Regions from separate parts of the Homo sapiens genome. Here region 2 is linked to region 1. The links are contacts of gene promoters, found by promoter capture Hi-C in blood cells and fetal thymus (Javierre and others, 2016). All regions are on one chromosome and are shown on one strand. The core of a region is centred on a gene start or on the middle of the fragment in contact, and the rest is flanking DNA. Distances in the headings are between cores, read along the strand shown. Region 1 holds the start of C1orf146 (chromosome 1 open reading frame 146). Region 2 overlaps EVI5 (ecotropic viral integration site 5).

What was found. Contacts are between HindIII fragments. The CHiCAGO score rates a contact against its expected background, and 5 or more counts as called.
Region 2: a fragment that was not itself captured here is called in contact with the fragment with the promoter of C1orf146 in region 1 in 2 of 17 cell types (fetal thymus and total CD8 T cells); the score reaches 7.1 in fetal thymus.

What each region holds. Positions count from the first base shown.
Region 1 is chr1:92,215,896-92,220,687 of GRCh38, reverse strand. C1orf146 (chromosome 1 open reading frame 146) reads right to left here and starts at 2,773. Exons shown (of 6, transcript NM_001012425.2): 1 at 2,640-2,773. The HindIII fragment of the contact is 5,529 bases long and covers 1,915-4,792 here.
Region 2 is chr1:92,635,628-92,640,419 of GRCh38, reverse strand. It overlaps EVI5 (ecotropic viral integration site 5), which reads left to right. Exons shown (of 20, transcript NM_001350197.2): 14 at 4,084-4,218. Among named protein-coding and RNA genes, the nearest start is that of EVI5, 150 kb to the left of the region's middle. The HindIII fragment of the contact is 2,003 bases long and covers 857-2,859 here.

The sequences.
Region 1 (4,792 bases), core at 1,524-4,023:
GAAATATTTTATAGATACAGTCATGCATTGCATATTAACTGTTCAGTCAACAATGGACTTCATATATGACTGGTGGTGCCACAAGATGATAATACTGTATTTTTACTTTTTTTACATTTAGATATGTTTAGATATGCAGGTTGCCTACAGTATTCAGTACATTAACATACTATACATATTTGTAGCCCAGGAGCAATAGGCTATACCATATAGCCTAGATGTCTAGTAGACTACACCATCTAAGTTTGTGTAATTACACTCTATGATGTTCTCACAATGACAAAATCACCTAATGATGCATTTCTCAGAACACATCCCCATCATTAAGCAATGCATGACTGTATGTGTATATACCCAGATTAGTACACACACATCTATTTCTTTACTCTGTTAGCTGAAAGGGCCTAAAACAAACGACACCCTAGCACCTGGGTGCTAGCAACAAGTACACCTAGCACCCAGATTTTGGTTTCTAAATAGCATTCTCCAAAAAAGGAACCAGGGCTCCTTGGAGAAATGGTCGATTCTAGGACTGGGACAGGAAACATACAAGATGAGTCCAGAGTAGTGCCAAAAAGAAAGTACTTAAAAACAAAAACAAACAAACAAAAAAACCCCACACAGATGGCATTGATGGGGCATGTCATAAGAGCACAGGAACCAACTGAAAGAGCTCCCAATGGCTAAAGCTGGAACAATTTGAGCAAAATAAAATAGCATTATAATCCAAAGTATAAAGTGAATATCCATGAGTCTATACTGATATAAAGGTTTGAACAAACCAATAAATGGAGAAGAGACAAATCTGTGCAGAATAATTCCAAAAAATTTATGTATATATACTCCAACCTTAAGAACAGGAGCATGGAGCTGGGCACAGTGGCACACACCTATAATTCAAGCTACTCGGGAGACTGAAGCAGGAGGATTGCTTAAGGCCAAGAGTTTGAGGCTGCAGTGCATTATGTTTGCACCTGTAAATAACAACTGTACTCCAGCCTGGGCAACATAGCAAGACCCTGTCTCTAAAAATATTAAACAGTGGGGGTGGGGAATATAACTCCCCATTCCTTAGGTGTGGCTGCACACCCAGGAGGTGGAGGTTGCAGTGACCTGAGATCCCATTCCTGCACTCCAGCGTGGGTGATAGAGCGAGACTCTGTCTTAAAAAAAAAAAAAAAAAAAAAAAAAGAAAGAGAAAGTCACTTTCAGTGATGGTAAGTTAGTATCTCCCAAGGTGATTTCATTCTACTTTTCAACAACTTTAATAATTAGAAAGTTCTTCCTGCTGAGTTGAAACCAGCTGCTCTCTAATTTCCTCATTTATTGCATGAATGAATGAATGAGAAGTTAACTAGCTCCATGAGAGCAGGGACACATTCTGATTCTGTTTTACCTTACTCAGCACCTGGCACTCAGTAGACACTCAAAGATTTGTGAATGAGTAAATGGTGAGTTGGCTGGGGGAAGGGCTTCAACTTCTATAACCCCCCCTACACATACTTACTAATACACCCACATAGCTATGAATACATATATGCAAAGGTTACAAGAACTTTTTGGAGTAGTTACTGGTATGTATGTGGATATGTATGTTTGTGCCTATCAGTTAGTAATCCATAAATGTTCATTTAAATCTTTACACCCTTATACATAGGTTTTAAAAACAATTTAACTAAAGCTAAGAGAAGTAAAGTAATCACGTGCACAATAAGTGAGAAAGGAGTGGGGTCAGTCGTGTCCCAAGTCCCTGTTAAAGGTGAGGAATGAATCAGAAACCTGGGGCTGGGGCAGTGCCTTCTCAGCATTTCTGGGGAAAAGCTCCTCGACCAGCAGCCAAGCAAGGACTGTGTGGCTTTGGGCAAATCACGTCACCTCTGGTTAGGCTGCATCCTCACCTGAAAACAAAAAGCTTCTAAACGGGAGGTGAACGCTGAGCGTGCAGGGACAGAGGGGAGGGGCAGGCGCGGGGGACGGGACCGGGGGACCAGAAGGTGGAGGAGGGACAGTCACTAATGGGCACCTGGGGGACGACAGAATCTGGACAACAAACTCCCGTGACACGAGTTTAACCTATGTAACACACCTGCACACGGACTCCTGAACCTAACATAAAAGTTAAATTAAAAATAAAAACAAAAAGCGTGGGCCCAGTGGCCTCTTAAACCTTTGCCAGTTCCAAGGCCCTGGTATTCTGGGCTTTTGTTGCTACTGTTTTGTTTTTTCCAAGCTCTGGAGTGTTTGCAAATTTAAGTTTAACACTGCCCCATCATCTCCAGCAAGTCACTTTCCCTGCTCAGTCTCCTCACGGGTCCAGTGAGGCGCCGGCCTACAAGGATCTTCACGGTCTCTTCCATTCTTTACTTTTCGGAGTGACCAACAAAGCCTAAAGCAAATAAAATTTACACTCGCAGGTGGGTGACGGACTTCTGACAGGGAAAACCCCGAGGGAGCCCTTTCCACACCGATTCTCAAGGGGAAAATAGGGTGGGCAGGATCTCCTCCCCTCACCCGCCAAAGCCCTGAGGTAAAGCTCTGAGCTCGGCAAGTCAGAGAGCACTACGCCGGCGAAGAACGAAGAAAGAAAAACGCGAAGAGACAGGTCTGCCGAGGCCTCATCCCCAGCGCTGCAAACCCACCTGCTCACCAGGTCCTCAGAGACCGCTCAGGGTTTCCCAAACTTCCAGAACGTTCCGTGAGCAGTGAGAGGCGCCGCCGGTAGGGCAGAGCGCCCAGGGTGCCTGGGGCAGGGTTCTGCAGTCGCTGGGCTTCTGCGCAACCGCAGACCCCGCAAACCTTTTCCGCGCTTCTGGCTCCCTAGAGCGAGGTTTGCAGGAAGCCGGAAGTGGTTAAGAAGATACAAGATTTGTAGGCCTGGCGCGGTGGCTCATGCCACTAATCCCAGCACTTTGGGAGGCCGAGGTGGGCGGATCACGAGGTCAGAAGTTTGAGACCAGCGTACCAACATGGTGAAACCCCGTCTCTACTAAAAATGCAAAAATTAGCTGGGCATGGAGGCGCGCACCTGTAATCCCAGCTACTCGAGAGGCTGGGGCAGGAGAATCGCTTGAACCCAGGAGGCGGAGGTTGCAGTGAGCGAGATCGCACCACTGCACTCCAGCCTGGGTGACAGGGCAAGACTCCGTCTCAAAAAAAAAAAAAAAAAAAAAACAAGATTTTTGCGTGTTAGACTCAGTTGTCCGGAATTGATTTTCACAGTTTTCTAAAATTCAGGCTCAATTCTTAGATTTCTGTCATTTGCAACATAAAATCAAAGTGGCCTTCAGTTTATCCAAATTATGAAAAAGGTAGATTTTCATGAGCAGCTGTCAAAAGGACATACAGGGGCCTGTGTGTTTGCTTTTTAGGACCCCATTATGTTCAGACCTAATTGAAGCTCAGCAATTTATTAAGTGTCACAATCATAAAAATGTAAAAAGACAAAGACCACTACTTGCCTTGAGCCTAATGGTTAGGATACAAAACTATGTGCCTTACTTTGTAAAACAGGTATTCCTGTAGAAAGAAAGGTGCTCCAGGAAAAATCCTTTGGAGCACACTTGTGATGTGCTGTTAATTTTTCCCTGTGATAACCATTTTGTATGTTTGGCATTTTGTATAACTGATATTAAAATTAGGTGCACTCTTGCTGCCTCATTTGGGCAGTTTGTTAAGCCACCACACCTGGCCTCTTGTTTATAAATTACCTGGTCTAAGGTATTTTGTTATCGTGGCCATAATGGACTAAGACAATTCCTCCTCTCTTCAAATCTCCAGAACTTATTCCTCATCTTCATTTTCGGCTGAAGTGAAATAGTTACTGCTAATATTTCATAAAGATTTATGATTTTAATAGTATTTAGTATTTAATATTAAATACTATTCAAATGAGATAAATAAAAGCATCCAGAAACGAAGTTCCACAGATGTCCACCTACCAATCTACCAACATCTATATGCCAGATTCTGCTTTCTTTCCAACTATAGTAGGTGAACTGTATAATCCTATGTAAGGCCAGCCCTCAAATGGACAACAGAGCCCATCTCTTCTTGCTTACCCAAGAATATAGCTCCACCGGCCAGTCGCGGTGGCTCACGCCTGTAATCCCAGCCCTTTGGGAGGCTGAGGCAGGTGAATCACAAGGTCAGGAGATCAAGATCAGCCTGGCCAATATGGCAAAACCTCATCTCTACTAAAAATACAAAAAATTAGCCAGGTGTGGTGGTGCACACCTGTAGTCCCAGCTACTTGGGAGGCTGAGGCAGGAGAATTGCTTGAACCTGGGAGGCAGAGGTTGTAGTGAGCCAAGATCATGCCACTGCACTCCAGCCTGAACAACAGAGCAAAACTGTCTCAAAAAAAAAAAAATATATATATATATATATATATATATATATCCACCAATTATTTCCTGACTCTTACAATCTTCAATTTTCTCCTCTCCACTGAATAGTCTCAATAGCAAATAAATATGCCATTATTTCTCTCATCTTAAAATCTCTTAATCTCCTCTCCCACACCAGCTAACAATCCATTTCTCTGCTCTCTTTACAGAAAAACTCAAAAGGATTGTCTATAATTTCTGTTGCTAATGCCCTTTTTTCCCATTCTTTATCAAATTTATTCCAATCAGACTTTTTCATTTCCACCATACCACAGAAATTGCTCATGTCAAAGTCATTGGTAAATCCAGCAAACAGCTGTCAATACTAATTTTACTTGGTCAATCAGCAGTACTTGTTACAGTTGATCATTCCCTCCTCCTGGAAAAACTTTCTTTCCTTGGCTTCC
Region 2 (4,792 bases), core at 609-3,108, 420 kb before region 1:
TTTTTCTCTTGTAAATTTGTTTAGGTTCCCCATAGATTCTGAATTTTAGACCTTTGTCAGATGGGTAGATTGCAAAAATTTTCTCCTGTTCTGTAGGTTGACTGTTCACTCTGATGATAGTTTCTTTTGCTGTGCAGAAGCTCTTTAATTAGATCCCATTTGTCAGTTTTGGCTTTTGTTACAATTGCTTTTGGTGTTTTAGACATGAAGTCTTTGCCCATGCCTATGTCCTGAATGGTATTGCCTAGGTTTTCTTCTAGGGTTTTTATGGTTTGGGGTTTTACATTTAAGTCTTCAATCCATCTTGAGTAAATTTTTGTATAACATGTGAGGAAGGGATCCGGTTTCAGTTTGCTGCATATGGCTAGCCAGTTTTCCAAGCACCATTTATTGAATAGGAGATCCTTTCCCCATTGCTTTTGTCGGGTTTGTTGAAGATCAGATGGTTGTAGAAGTACGGTGTTATTTCTCAGGTCTCTGTTTTGTTCCATTGGTTTATATGTCTTTTTGGTACCAGTACCATGCTGTTGGGTTACTGTAGCCTTGTAGTATAGTTTGAAGTCAGGTAGCGTGATGCCTCCAGCTTTGTTCTTTTTGCTTAGGATTGTCTTGGCTATACAGGCTCTTCTTTGGTTCCATATGAAATTTAAAGTAGTTTTTTTCTAATTCTGTGAAGAATGTCAATGGTAGTTTGATGGGAATAGCATTGAATCTATAATTACTTTGGGCAGCATGCACAATTTTTTATTTAGAGTTGTGATAAGTGTTACAAAAGAGATGAGAACAGGGTTCCATGAAATGTTTGGGTTCCTGAAAAGAGCATATAAATGTCATATCTTGAACTTAGTTAAAAGCTTAATGTATACTTAAATTCAAGCAATATTGGATACATTTGCATGGACAACCCTTTTTCTAATTTCAATTTTTTTTCACTTAATAATATGAGAAACTTCCCCCAATACAAATATTTACTTTTTACTGTATTACTCCTATTTCCTTCAAATATTGAAATTTTTTTTAATAATATGAGAAACTTCCCCCAATACAAATATTTACTTTTTACTGTATTACTCCTATTTCCTTCAAATATTGAAGATTTTTTTTTAAGCTCAAGACACAAGCAAAAAGGATTACTGAGGACTTTCTAACTTACCTTTACCTTTGTAATTTTTGCAACACCAGAAAAGCACATAGGATTGAAAAGCAGACTCTGCTTACTAAAAAGAATTTCTGTCAGTTTCATTGGAATGGGATTGCTGGTATCACAGAAACATTATGAGATTCATTTACATAAATTAACTTGATGTAAGTATAGAGAAGTCATCTGTCATTTCTATGCTTTTAAATAAACGGCTCCCCTTGCTGAGACTGCCAGCCATCATAATTGTGGCAGTTGTCATTTGGTAAAACAAATTGTGTGTCTGTCCAAGTTACTCACTTGAATATGAAATGCACTCTTCTAGGAATTTCTTAATACAAGAACATTATGTGAGATCTATATGCTTAGATTTTTTTTAGAGGTTTGGATTTTTTTAATATTATATAATTAATTTTTAGAACAGTATATATTAAAACAATATATTAAACTCTTCAACACCTATATGGCTTAAAGGTGAGGAACATGGGCTCTGTAATACAAACTGTCAATTAATAGCACTATCAACTGCTGTTTGACCTTGGTGTACCCTATTAGTTTCCTTATTAGTAAGACAGTAATTGTGGTGAAGGTTAAAGGAGAATATAAAGTGCTTAACATGTGTCTGGCACATAGTAAGTGGTGAGTAGATGTTAGCTGCTGTCATAATTGTCATTTCTGTCAAACATTAAAACATGTTTATAAAACTGTTTTCCCCCTGTGGAAAATAGAATAAATTGAAACTACAGTGGTTAGCTTCAGGTAATTTATAGTTCACAGCAGCATCTTTTCCTTAGACACTGTGTAATTTGCAGTATGTTAATTGGCCACCATCATGATGACCTGGGAATTATATTCTGTAAACTCTGTCAGTGGCAAAAAAATTTACATAATACGTTTAGAGTTATTTTAATCCAGAAGACTAAAATAATATGTTTTAGAGTATAAAAAGCATAAGATATATATTATCCAGAATGACTTGTTATCAGAGCATTTCAGCTCTCTGTAAATTTTATTAATAAAGATTTGTGCCCAACATTACTATAGCTTTTTGTACTTGATTGGATTAGTTGGTTTATGCCAATCAAGAATTCCATTCTCATATGGGCCTTTGAGTTTGATGTTTTCTTGGGGATCTTCTAATATAAAGTCTTTGCAAACAAACCTGTGCTACAGTTGCCAGGGCTTTAAGTTGAGGGCAAAAAAATTCTTCCAGTACCCACGAAATAACTGTGATCTAATTAAATAAATTATGGCACATCTAGTTTGGATGTGGTCATTCCAAAAGAATGCCTTTTTCCTAATTGATAAAAGGTAAGTATTTGCTAAGATGATGTGTCTGTTGCAGATGCACTTCTCGTATTGAAATATTGTTTCAATAGTATCAAAATTACTAGAAGAAATAATGTATAATGCATTGAATTAAAGTCCTCATTTGCACATCTTTTTTTGGTAACTGGGGCAGGAGAGTACCATGTATTAAGCATCTGGTTATTTTTAATAGTTTTGATTTGACATCTGTTTTGTTCCTAACATATTAAAGAGTAAAAATAACTGTGCTTTATTCATGCTAGTTCAGTAGAAGATTGTTTTTTATGACTTTATTTTGAAATTTTGAGTTGCCACATTTTCTTTACTACATAAATTAAATGTGAAGTGATAGACAATTTATTTTAGAAAGTATTTTATAATGATGAATTACATATTGCTTTTGTACAGAAGCTTTTCTATGGGCACTGGCTTAAAAATGACGACTTAAGTGTTTGCATCAATATTCATGTTTTATAGAGTAGGAAAGCAAATGGGAAAGTTGCGTGCTTCCGTGGTTAATTTCTTTGTGCAGCATCTGCGTCTTCTCTACTTCCAGCAATTATTTCTATGTATATCTTTTTTTTTTTTTTTTCTTGAGACAAGAGTCTTGCTCTGTCACCTGGGCTGGAGTACAGTGGCATGATCTTGGCTTACTGCAACCTCCACCTCCCGGGCTCAAGCCATTCTCCTGCCTCACACTCCCTAGTAGCGGGGATTACAGGCGTGTGCCACCATGCCCAGCTAATTTTTGTATTTTTAGTAGAGACAGGGTTTCACCACGTTGGCCAGGCTGATCTTGAACTCCTGGCCTCAAGTGATCCACCCGCCTCGGCCTCCCAAAGTGCTGGGAAACCATGCATATCTTTTGAAGAAGATTTCTACATTTCTAAGGACAAATACAATTTTGTTATTTTGGAATTTAGATGGTTCACATTATTGTAGGTACCCTGTTTTTTTTCTATTAGATTAAAATATATTTTTCAGTAATCTTTACATGTCTTCTGTAGTATATAACAGTACTATCAAATAGCAATATAATGTGTCACATATGCAATTTAAGATTTTCTAATACCCACATTAAAAGGAGCAAAAAAAGGTAAAATTAATATTTTTATTTACCTCAGTATATTCAAAATATTATTTTAATGTAATCAATATAAAAATCATTGAGATTTTTTTATTTCATATTAATTCTTCAAAATCCAGTTTGTATTTTATACTTATAACTTGTTTTAATCTGTATTAGCCACATTTCAAGTGTTCAGTAGCCACATGTGGCTAATTGCTATCCTATTTATTGTGCAGTGTAGGTCTGTAAAGTCAGAAAAAATTCTTTGTATCTGGATGGATGGACAGATAAAAGGAGATGTTTATCTTATATGAATCAGATTTGATCAGCGTAATAACTAGTTACCAAAACCCAATAATGTGGTCATCTTTATAGATATCAAAGGTGGGCTTTTTTACTCATTGGAGAAGTTAATTGGAGGAGATACATTGGAAATATTGGGTAGATGGAACTTCTCCTATTTAGTTGCCCTTAATGTAATATAACTGTATTATGTGGTTGCATTGTTTTTATTGTATATACATGTTTATACTTTCATGAAATTTCAGTGTATGTCTGTAACCTTTAGCATAAATGCAGTTCCAACTACAACGAAGATTTTGTGCTACAGCTAGAGAAGGAATTGGTCCAAGCCCGACTGAGTGAAGCTGAGTCTCAGTGTGCATTAAAAGAGATGCAGGATAAAGTCTTGGATATAGAGAAGGTAAGAAACCTACACAAATGCAGTCATTCCCAAATTAGAGGGGATATGTGATATTTATTAAGTACTTACTGAGCAATTTAATTGACTTGGTGTTTTTATACATTAGAAGCCTTACATATTAGTTACTAAGAGGAAAAGGAAAAAAAGATTTTTAAAATTGCCAGTTATTCCTTGTTGCCTTCATACTAATCACAGCCCCGTATTTAAGGATAAAAATGGAGATTAGAGCCCTTTTGGAGGAAAACGACCAGAATAATTTTCATAAAAAGAGTATCTAAATGTTGCAGAAGAGAGAAACTCAGGTGACAGAAATTAACTGTTATCATCAAATATTGCAATATTTTCATGTGGAAGAGATAGAATAGGACTAATACATAGACATTTCGGGAAAATTTCATCTGAGCGGGTGGAGCCAAGATAGCTGAATAGGAACAGCTCCTGTCTACAGCTCCCAGTGTGAGCGACGCAGAAGACGAATGATTTCTGCATTTCCAACTGCCGTACCAGGTGCATCTCATTGGGATTGTTGGACAGTGGGTGCAGGATAGTGGGTGTAGTGCACCGAGCCTGAGCC